Linked DNA regions of Homo sapiens: region 1 is linked to region 2. The links are contacts of gene promoters, found by promoter capture Hi-C in blood cells and fetal thymus (Javierre and others, 2016). All regions are on one chromosome and are shown on one strand. Each heading gives the region's core, a stretch centred on a gene start or on the middle of the fragment in contact. The rest is flanking DNA. Distances are from core to core; before and after follow the strand shown.

Region 1 (5,875 bases), core at 753-3,252, 130 kb before region 2:
TCAATAAAATATTCACTAATTTCATTTACTAAATTGTACTCCTGTCTAGCAGATTAGCATTGTGTTAGCTCAAAGTATTCTCTCAGTTAATGAAAACTTAAGATTCAGAATTAAAAGGCAGTTTGGAGTGGGGACAGAATGTTTATATATATCCACATGTTTCTGCTGTAATGCCATTCTTGCATTCCTGGAAATCCTGACATGCTGCCAAACAATAAGCAAAAGTAACAGTTTGTGGAGAAAAAGCACACACCACTCAAAACTGAACAAAATTTTATAAGAGCCCTAACAAAAACCCTAACCCTAATAAACATGGTAGTAAAATTAAATCTAGTTTAGACCAGTTTCATCAAGATTAACATTCTAATCTAGGAGTAGCTTTATTTATCAATCAAATTTTTTTTTAAAAGACTTGGAAATCTCTAGCTTTTTCGTTTATCCTAGCACATTGCCAGATGGTTTGATGAAGTGGAAAATGTAGCCAGACTTGAACCCACTAAACATCTGCTTCTTAAACCAAAAGAAAGAAATACCAGGAGATTTTTTTTCCTTAAGGTCTTTACATATCACTAAAGCCTTTTTTTTTTTTTTAAATTGTAGAAAGCCTACCTCTGATCACTTCAAATCAGTAATATGTTGGGGGTAAAGTGCATATATAAGTCTTTCCCCTATTGACCAATTGCATATAAGCTGATTCACATTAAATAAACATTTTAAGGCTGGACACAGTGGCTCAGGCTTGTAATCTCAGCACTTTGGGAGGCCGAGGAAGGAGGATCAGCTGAGGTCAGGAGTTCGAGACCAGCCTGGCCAACATGGAGAAACTCCATCTCTACTAAAAATACAAAAATTCGCTGGGTGCGGTGGCAGGCGACTGTAATCCCAGCTACTCGGGAAGCTGAGGCACGAGAATCGCTTGAACCTGGGAGGCAGAGGTCGCAGTGAGCCGAGATCATGCCACTGCACTATAGCGCAGGTGACAGAGCGAGACTCTGTCTCAAAAAAAAAAAAGAAGAAATGTTTTGGTGTTACAACAGACTTTTCTTAACCATCTATGTTATTTAAGAGATGAGGAAACAGACTCCAGAAGGTAACGTAACTTGCCCTTGCTCACACAGTCACTGAAGATGTCAAGATTTGAATACAAATCTCAAGCCCCCTAGCCTCCATTTCCTAACCATTATGCAAACTACCTACTTTGACAGTCACATTCACTGGAAGTGTTTAGATCAGCACAATCCAATAAAAATAGAATGTAAGCCTTGGATATAATTTAAAATTTTCTAAAAACTAGATGTTTTACTTTTTAAAAAGTAAAAGTGAAATTAATTTTAATAAATTATAATTTCAACACATAACCAATATGAAAAATTATTACTGAGATACTTTCCATTGTTTGTACTGAATCTTTTAAATCCAGTGGGTATGTTAAGCTTAACACATCTCTATTTAGACTAACCACATTTCAAGTGCACAGTAGCTACATGTGGCTAGTGGCTGCCTACTGTTTTAGACAGCAGAGGCCTAGATTGTAATTCTATTACTCTACTGAAATGTAAACCTTTTTAGGAAATAGCTTGCTCACAAAATAAGCAGATAGAAAACACCTAATTCTCAACCTGTCATTTTTTTAGTGCTCTCTTTCTAAATCTGGAAACCATGATTTAATGTTTAGATTTGTATTTGGTAACATTTTATTTTTGTTGAGAAAATCTATTGTCACATTTCTAAGCACTAATGTCCTTTATTAGTCATTTCTCAGTAGTAGTTTAGTTATACTCTGTGATTACAAAGCGATTAGTGGATGAATGTATTTTTCTGGATAACTAAAGACCTTGAACTTTACACAAATTTTATTTTGCTTTGATTATTTTTGATGGAAATGCTTTTTTTTTTTTTTTTTTGAGAGAGTCTCACTCCATCACCCCGGTTGGAGTGCAGTGGTGCAATCTCAGCTCACTGCAAACTCCACCTCCCAGGCTCAAGGCCTCAGCCTCCCAAGTAGCTGGAATTACAGGCGTGTGTCACCACACTCAGCTAATTTTTGTATTTTTAGCAGAGATGGGGTTTTGCCATGTTGGCCAGGCTGGTCTTGAACTCCTGCCCATTTTCACCTCCCAAAGTGCTATGATTACAGGGATGAGCCACCATACCGAGCCTCAGAAATGCTTCTGAAATGCTTCTGAAATGTGCTACATAATTCCATCTTACACACAACATACTTTATCCTCCATGATTAAAAGTCATTAAGGATACTATCTTAGTCTTCAGCTGCTGTGTCAAACTATCATAAACCAGATAGCTTAAAAACAACAGAAATATATTTCTTGCGGTTCTGGAGTCTGGGAAATTCAACATCAAGATGTCTGCAGATTTGTTGTCTTGCTATAACTTCACATGGTAGGGGGCAAGATAGCCCTCTGGGGCTTTTTTCTTTTTCCTTTTTTGTAATTTTCCTTTTTTCTGATAGTTTTGATCAGAGGACAGGACTTTTTATAAGGGCACTAATGACCTTATTACTGTCACACGCGTCCGTGTGAAGAGACCACCAAACAGGCTTGGAGAGAGCAATGAAGCTTTTTATTCACCTGGGTGCAGGCGGGCTGAGTCCAAAAAGAGAGCAGAGGGAGTTAGGGGTGGGGTAGTTTTATAGGATTTGGGTAGGTAGTGGGGAAGATTACAGTCAAAGGGGATTGTTCTCTTGCGGGCAGGGGCGGGGGTCACAAGGTGCTCAGTCGGGGAGCTTCTGAGCCAGGAGAAGGAATTCAATTCACAAGGTATTGTCATCAGTTAAAGCAGGAACCGGCCATTTTCACTTCTTTTGTGATTCTTCAGTTACTTCAGGCCATCTGGATGTATACGTTCAGGCTTGGGCTCAGAGGCCTGACATTCCTGTCTTCTTACATTAATAAGAAAAATAAAATAGTGGTAAAGTGTTGGGGCCCTGAAAATTTTTGGGGGTGGTATGGAAAGATAATGGGCGACGTTTCTCAGGGCTGCTTCGAGCAGGATTGGGGCGGCGTGGGAACCTAGAGTGGGAGAGATTAAGCTGAAGGAAGATTCTGTGGTAAGAGGTGATATTGTGGGGTTGTTAGAAGGAGCATTTGTTGTATAGAATGATTGGTGATGGCCTGGATACGGTTTTGTATGAATTGAGAAACTAAACAGAAGACGCAAGGTCCAAATAAGAGAAGGAGAAAAACAGGTATTAAAGGACTTAAGAATTGGGAGGACCCAGGACATCCAACTAGAGAGTGCCCAAGGGGGTTCAGCATAATTACTTGCTTGGTTGGCAAGTTTTTGGGCTCTATCTTTGAGTTTTTTTATGTTGTCATATACCAGGCCAGATTGATTTAGGTAAAAACAACACTCTTCGTTTAATATACAGAGTCCCCTTTTTTTTTAGCAGTGACTAACGAGTCCTCCACGATTTTGGAGGAAAGAGAAATACAAAGCCAGCAATTGTTTGTTAAAGAAGGATTAGAAACGGCTAGGAGAGAGTGAGTGAGATTGATAGTGTGGTGGAGATAGCTGGGGAGAGGTAGAGGGTGGCATAAGAACGGGAACAAGAATAAGAGTGAGTATGAAAGTAAAGAATAGGACTTCATCAAGGTGAAAGTATTGGAGTGTACCCTGCCAGCAAGATCATCTATCCACTTTAAGAGAGACTTAAGGGTGGTGGTTTGAGGTAAAACCAGAAGGTATCAGTTATGATGGTTTGAAGGAAAAGTGTAAACCGGCAGTGGAAACAAGGGCAGGGCATTTATGAGTAGTTGAGAATGGTGAATAGGAGTATGACTAGACAGAAGATAGTAGGGATGACAAGTTTTTGGGGTACAGTCCAAGTTAGGCTGGTGTCTGGAATGAGACTGGGGCCTAATAAAAAGGAGCATCCATAGGAGCTCAAATGGGCTGTACCCTGTAGCGTCCCGAGGACAGGCCCGAATTCTGAGAAGGGCAAGTGGTAAAAGTATTGTCCAGTCCTTTTTAAGTTGGAGGCTGAGCTTGGCGAGGTGTGTTTTTAAAAGATCATTAGTCCGTTTTACCTTTTCCGAAGATTGAGGACGGTAAGGGGAAGGTTCTACTGAATACCAAGAACCTGAGAAACTGCTTGGGTGATTTGACTAGTAAAGGCTGGTCCATTATCGGACTGTATAGAGGTGGGAAGGCCAAACCAAGGAATTGTGTCTGACAGAAGGGAAGAAATGACCACGGTGGACTTCTCAGACCCTGTGGGAAAGGCGTCTACCCATCCAGTGAAAGTGTCTACCCAGACCAAGAGGTATTTTAGTTTCCTGACTCGGGGCATGTGAGTAAGTCAGTTTGCCAGTCCTGGGCAGGGGCAAATCCCCGAGCTTGATGTGTAGGGAAGGGAGAGGGCCTGAACAATCCCTGAGGAGTAGTAGAATAGCAGATGGAACACTGAGAAATGATTTCCTTGAGGGTAGAATGTCCATGGTGGAAAGGAAATGAGAGATTCTAAGAGGCACGCTAGCGGCTTGTAATCTACATGGAAGTTATGAGAATTGTAGGGAGTGAGTTGAGCATAGTTTGTGATTTTGAGGGCCTCTAAAAGTATTAGAGCAGCAGCAGCTGCCGCGTGCAGACATGAAGGCTAGGCTAAAACAGTAAGGTCAAGTTGTTTGGACAGAAAGGCTACAGGGCGCAGTCCTGGCTCTTGTGTAAGAATTCTGACCACAGAGCCCTGTACTTCGGCTGTGTGTAATGAAAAGGGTTGGGATGAGTTAGGGAGAGCTAGTATGGGAGCAGCTTTTAGGGCTGTTTTTTAAGGAATGGAAAGGGGAGCAGGGAAAGGATTTAGGATTTATGGTGTCAGCTAGGTTTCCTTTTGTGAGTTTATATAATGGTTTAGTCAGGATGGTAAAACTAGGTATCCAAAGGCGGAAGTACCTAACCATGCCTAGGAAGAAAAGGAGTTGTTGTTTTGTAGAAGGGGTTGGGGTTTTGGAGATTAGCCAGACACGATCAGCAGGGAGAGCACGTGTGTTTTTATGAAGAATTATGCCGAGATAGGTAACAGATGAGGAAGAAATTTGGGTTTTGGAGGACGACACGAGATATCCTTTTGATAACAGATGTTGGAGGAGCAGGAGGATGTCCTCTTGGGAAGATTTATAGGAGGGGCTATATAGTAGAAGGTCATCAAAATACTTAATAAGGTGTGAAGTAGATGGACAGAAAGAGAGTAAATTATGAGAAAGGGCTTGACCGAAGTAATGGGGGCTGTCCCTGAAGGCTTGCAGCAGTACAGCCCAGGTAAGTTGCTGAGACTGATGGATGTCAGGGTCAGTCCAGGTAAAAGCAAAGGGGCTGGGAGGAGGAGTGCAGGGGAATAGTGGAAAAAGCATGTTTTGAGATCCAGAACAGAATAATGGGTGGTGGAGGGACGTATTGAGGATAGGAGAGTATATGGGTTTGGCACCACAGGGTGGATAGGCAAAACAATTTGGCTGATAAGGCACAGATCCTGAACTAACCTGTAAGACTTGTCCAGTTTTTGGACAGGTAAAATGGAATTGTAAGGAGAGTTTATAGGCTTTAAAAGGCCATGCTGTAACAGGCAAGTGATAACAGGCTTTAATCCTTTTAAAGTATGCTGTGGGATGGGATATTGGCCTTAAGCAGGGTAAGAGTGATTAGTTTTTAATGGGATGGTAAGGGGGTGCATGATTGGTCACCAAGAAGGGAGTAGAGGTGTCCTATGCTTGTGGATTAAGGTGGGGAGACACAAGGGGAGGATGTGAAGGAGGCTTTGAACTGGGGGAAAGGGCGGCAATGAGGTGTGGCTGTAGCCTAGGAATAGTCAGGAAAGCAGATAATTTAGTTAAAATGCCTCAACCTAATAAGGGAACTG
Region 2 (5,756 bases), core at 183-2,682:
GGATACCGGAAGCCAGAGAAAACCTAGCGGTGGAATACTTGCCATTTTTCATGCTTTTTGTCAGTTTCCTTTTTAAGTGCATACTGAGGTTTATCTTCAAAACATTCTCATCTTTTCGGCTTACAGTAAGACTTTTTTTTTTTTCTAACCAAAATGTGTCTGCCTTTCATTAAGATAACATAAAAGAGCAGCCTAATTCTTTGGTCCCTGAATATGCACACACATGCATGCACACACACACACGCAGACACACACACAACACATGGAGGCTCTCTGAAACTGCTTAATCAAATTACTGCTCAAACCACTCCCTGGCACTTCCTTGCAAAACAACCAACCTAATACTGAGTTTTTAGTTTTGCACTACAAGCCGTTTGAAACAGAATAACATTCTTTCCTGGCCACCACTTTTAAATTCGGAAGGAGACAATACTCTGATCTCTTAGGCCTGTGCAAGTCAGAGTGTGCTACAATCGCTGCAGGTTAGAGCTCTGCCTTTGTTTAAAAACTGCATTTTATATACTAGTTACTTCATTGTGAAAGATAACCACCCTGACAAACAAGATTTTGCTATTTTTCTGCACAAATGTCACTTCACCATTTAGAGCTTCATGCAAATGTGTCTCCTACAGAAAATAAACTGCAAACACGATTTCTTAATTATCCTCGCCAAAAAAAAAATGTTTTAGTGGTGTCATAATGCCAGCACTAATTTTAGCCAAAATAAGAACAAATGCATTCTACAAATTCAGGAGATTATAATTTTTAAAAAGCAGTAGTATGGATATACTTAATGTCACTGAATTACACACTTCCAAATGGTTAAATGGTAAACGTTTATGTATTGTATGGTAAATGTTATGTGTTATTTTGGCACAATATTGTTTCCTCACAATAATACTAACAGGTTTTTTAAAAAGCAAGAGCACGCTCTCATTTCGTAATATATATTTATGGATGTCAGTGTGCAGAATTATGCACAGATATTTTAAATGTCAGGAGGCCTGGAGACAGATTTCAGGATTGCGGCTACTTTTACTTTTCTTCTACTTTCCCGTGTTATCTAATTGTCTCTGATAAATACGCTTTATATGCAGAATTGGATGAAACGAGAAAGCCCGGAGAAACCCGGGCTCCAGATTCTCTACCCCGGACGCCTGGGAGGCAAAGAGGTTCTAGATACGCCCTCAGCGTGGCGGGGGCGGGATCCACCGCCAGACCCCCGCCACGGGCGCAGCCTCCAGGCCGGGCCCCGTCCGCCGCCCGGGCAGGCCCGAGAATGCCGCGGACTTCGGGGAGCCCCGCGCCCGCAATGCCGCCACCCCCACCCCCGCGCCCCGCCAGGCCTCTCACCGACTCCCGCCGCCGAGCGACAATCGGTCCACCCGCCGCCACCGCAGCCGCCCGTCCCGCGCCTACCTCCCGGCGGCTCCAGTCGCGCACGCGCGTCGGCGCCCGGGGCCCTCCGCGGCCTCTCTAGGAAACTGGGAGGCCCAACGTCTCTGCTTCTCTCCGGCTCCGGTGCGGCGGGCGGCGGGGCTTGTCCAACATCCCTCACCTCCCTCAGTTGGACATTTCCCTTCCACGCTCGGATGCCCAGCCGCGCCTGTTTTCTTGCATCCCTCCTGTCGTGTCTGCGGGGCTGCCCTGAAGGCCTCTTTCCCTCCAGGGAAGAAAGGGATCCAAAGCTAGGGGTGAAAATAGGGCCAGCAGTATCTAGCAGACTGGTCCTGGCCAGGAGAAGGGGTTAAGGGAGCCACTCATTCTTCGCCTGGGTACACTTCAAAGAGGGGAACCAGATCCTACGGGAAGCTAGGTGCCAGAACTCCTGCCTTTCCAAGACGAGCTCATCCCCATCATCACCATACCCAGGAATACTTGTTCATAGCCAGCTCAGAGGTGCACCATACTTTAGCTTCCCACGGCCTTCACTCGTTTTCTCCTGTGGGTGAATTCTAACTAGGCTCGCCTGGTGAGTGAACAATGATGCCATTGCCCAATAATATGTGGAATCTGGGAGGAGTAGGTTGGGGGTAGGGGGTGGAGGGGCTGCTTGAAGAGGAGGTGAAGCAACCTGGAGAGGTTGCCCACCCCCTGTAGGAGCAAATGTCATCTATTGCCAGTGCCAGAGAACCTTGAGGGTGCACAGCCAAAGCCATAAGGCCATCTGCTGCCATTGGAGGGCATGCTACAAGCTGCTGTCCTGGTAGTCCTCTGGTTTGTGCTTCCTAGTGGCAGGCTGCAACATGTTGACGATTGATCTTTCAGATGGGCATTGATGATGCCCATCTGTGCCCTGAGGCTTTGCTTTACTCATCTGATCCACCCCTTTTTAATGCCCCAGTCACCAAAGATGGAAACAGAGAATAGATCCTGAACACCAGGAAGATGGTGACAAGGTGATAGAGAAACAGATGGCACATTCAAACAAGGTAAGTGGGGAGAGTTCACAAGGGGCGATTTACACAAAGTGGACAGGGTTAAGGAAATGCAACACGGAGTGGTGCAGAATCCCATGGCTAGCAAAATTTAGAAGCTATTCTCACCCCTAGGAGCAGGCCATCTGAGAGAAACTGTGGCTTTCAGTTGAGGGCTACATCCAAGCCATAGTCCAGCACAAAGGAAGCTGAGGTAATAAATAACCTGAACCCAGCTCTCTTCTGATCTCCTGCCAGGGCTTCCCATTGGCCCAACTCAACTGGAAGCCAGAGGGCAATCCAGGAAACTCAGTCTCCCAAGTGTCACAGCAGGGTTGAGGACTGAGACTGAATATGGAGGGGCAATTGGAAAATATCCAACACATACAAAAAGGAAAATAGAAACTGCTTGTCAATGCCTAATTTGTCCATTAATTTCCACTCGATATAATGTTCTTGAGTGACTCAGAACCACCCATAGTGGTGAGAAGAGTTTTCAAGTTTTGTTTGAGAACAAAATTTTCCCATCGTAGAAGAGTTTGAGCAGGTTCTCTGTGTTTGGGATGTACTTACTGGATGTTTTTCAACGTGATAGGTGGTTAGCATGGATAGCACCCACATTTAGTGTGATCAAACAGATCAACCAAATTGGCTTCACCAGCACTTGCAAAGTTCGGGAAGCAGCCACTGGGAGTGCAGCTCTGATTTTAAGACCTATACAGCTTCTTGAATCTCGAAGTTCTGCTAATACCTGATTTCTCCGAGTGCCACAGCACTCGAGCCTATAACCATGAGGTTTCTTCACTTTTCTGGTAGGAGGCATATTCTTGCTAGCTGTACTTCCTGAGCACTGTACTCTTTCAGATCGGGGCAGTTTGCTTAGTAAAAGCCCTAGGTAAGATTCTCAAATTCTCATGTGCATATGAATACAAATCACTTGGGATCTGGTTAAACTGTAGATTCAAATTCAGGAGGTCTGGGGAGGGACCAACGAATATTTTTAACAAACTTCCAGGTGTACCCATATTGCAGTTCTTGGACCACACTTGGAGAAGCAAAGAACTGTGCATGTAAATCAGTGGTTCTTAACTTTGCTGCAGATTAGAATCCTCCTCAGAGCTTTTAAAAAGTCCATACCTCATATCAATTCAATCCAAATCTTTGTGGGTGAGACACTGACAAGCCTAGATTTTAAAATCCCTAGATGATTCCAACATTTGAGAACCTGGAAGTAGATAATTATCCTTTTACCCTGATTCCTTGCTACATGTAAAAACCACATGCTAAAGGATTGCATGTTCATTTGCTTCTTTGTTTTGGAATTTAAAGTGTATCAGGATTCTGCCTTTCAAACAGAAGGGGGAAATTTCCTCCTTAATTTTTTTCTTCTTATTTTGAAATGGGGAAGAAAAAATTGGGGTGTTGAGATGGGGATCTGGAATGTGACTTGAGAAAAGAGATAAGATGTTAAAACTAAGAATCAGTTGTGGGCAAACAAATTGGCCTGGTAGGATTTTCACTCCTTTTCTGGCCTCAAACTCAGCCCCTTCTCTGTAGTTTGAAGGAGGCAGGTTGAAATATTAGGATGAAAATAAAATAGAGCAATGTATCTGAGGATGGTGATTACTGTGATCCATTGGATTAGTGTACTCTTCTATAAGAAAAACATAAAACAAATGTTTAAGCAGTTAAATTATGTGTAATTGTGGCCATTTGAAATATATTACATATTATATCATATAATTAATCTTCTCTGAATTCCCCCTTCTGCCTCTAATTCTAAGATATTGAAAAATACATTTTAATGAGATTTTAGAAGGTGATCCAACTTTAAATGAATTTTAAAATTATCATTTATATCAAAGAAATACTGATGCATTTAGTACTAATGAAGGACTTAAAATGAAAAATTGAACTCAACTCCCTCCTCCACCCTCCATCTTTTTCTGCAGAGGATATTCCTTGCATCTGAACATAAAAGTAGAGAAAGAGAGAGGATCAGGAAGCCAGGAGAGAATATACACGAATTTAAACTTTATTGGTAGTGGAGGGGGTGAAAGAATCTTTGAGTCAGACCATAGCCATGAGGAAGAAAAACTATGGAATCTTTGCTTTTATGCATTGCTATACCTCAAGTACTTAGAACAGCACTGACTACATAGTATGTACTCAATAAACATTTGTTGACTAATCAATCTTCTCTATGTCTAACCCAGGCCCTTAGGAGGTCTCTATTGTGATAATAGCCAAATCCTCAAACAGGCCAGATTTAGCTGGCATGATAACGAAGGCCCCTCCGCTTTAATCCTTACAAGGAAAGTAATCTGAAATAACTAATGCCAACCAGTCTGCCTTTGGTTCCCTATTTTTGCTTTCTTTGGCCTTTTTCTGCTTATAAAGCCAATCTCCTCTGTTCAGCTTATCAGAATACCCGTTCTATTTTATAGAATGAGATGTTGCCCGAATCTAGAATCACTAACAAAACCTAATTTGGTCTTTATTATTTATTTATTTATTTATTTATTTATTTTTGAGACGGAGTCTCACTCTGTCACCAGGCTGGAGTGCAGTGGCACGATCTCAGCTCACTGCAACCTCTGCCTCCTGGGTTCAAGTGATTCTCTTGCCTCAGCCTCCTGAGTAGCTGAGATTACAGGCGCCCACCACCACACCCAGCTAATTTTTGTATTTTTAGTAGAGACAGGGTTTCACCATGTTGGCCAGGCTGGCCTTGAACTCCTGATCTCAGGTGATCCACACACCTCAGCTTCCCAAAGTGCTGGGATTACAGGCGTGAGCCGCTGCACCTGGCCTAATTTAGTCTTCAAACTAAATTTGTCGTAATTTCATCTTTTGACAACTGCTTCTGTCCTGCCTTTTTTTCACTTGCCATTCTAATGTCAAGTGTTTTTTATCACATCACTAAATAATCTTCAAAATTTTATTTTTCCTCAGGGCCCTGAAGTGATCCTCCTCCTGTTCACTGACACCCGTTGCCAAGAGAGAGAGAGAAAAAGAGAGAGAGAGAGAAGCAGGAAGAGAGGAGAGGGTGCTGGCCTTATTAGAGAAAGAATGTAAGGGGAAAGAAAACAATCATGTTAGCTTTGATTTCTGTAATAAGTCTGTATCACAGACAGGCTTAGAAAGCAAAGCTTTGGCATTACAAGAGCCCATGAGGGAGCAAAGCTCTCTTATAGAAAGTCTGAGGCCAGGCACAGTGGCTCACATCTGTAATCCCAGCAATTTGGGAGGCCGAGGCGGGCGGATCACGAGGTCAGGAGATCGAGACCATCCTGGCTAACACGGTGAAACCCCGTCTCTACTAAAAATACAAAAAAA

Evidence for each region. Contacts are between HindIII fragments. The CHiCAGO score rates a contact against its expected background, and 5 or more counts as called.
Region 1: a fragment that was not itself captured here is called in contact with the fragment with the promoter of ZNF445 in region 2 in 8 of 17 cell types (monocytes, erythroblasts, total B cells and 5 more); the score reaches 8.7 in monocytes.

The regions. Positions count from the first base shown.
Region 1 is chr3:44,342,138-44,348,012 of GRCh38, forward strand. The region is part of intron 1 of TCAIM (T cell activation inhibitor, mitochondrial); the gene reads left to right. Among named protein-coding and RNA genes, the nearest start is that of TCAIM, 6.3 kb to the left of the region's middle. The HindIII fragment of the contact is 1,143 bases long and covers 1,432-2,574 here.
Region 2 is chr3:44,476,238-44,481,993 of GRCh38, forward strand. ZNF445 (zinc finger protein 445) reads right to left here and starts at 1,433. Exons shown (of 8, transcript NM_181489.6): 1 at 1,354-1,433. It overlaps LOC101928529 (a long non-coding RNA gene), which reads left to right and starts at 1,453. Exons shown (of 4, transcript XR_940785.4): 1 at 1,453-1,972; 2 at 2,345-2,432; 3 at 5,373-5,491. RefSeq lists silencers at 1,181-1,230, 1,251-1,410. The HindIII fragment of the contact is 9,006 bases long and covers 1-5,567 here.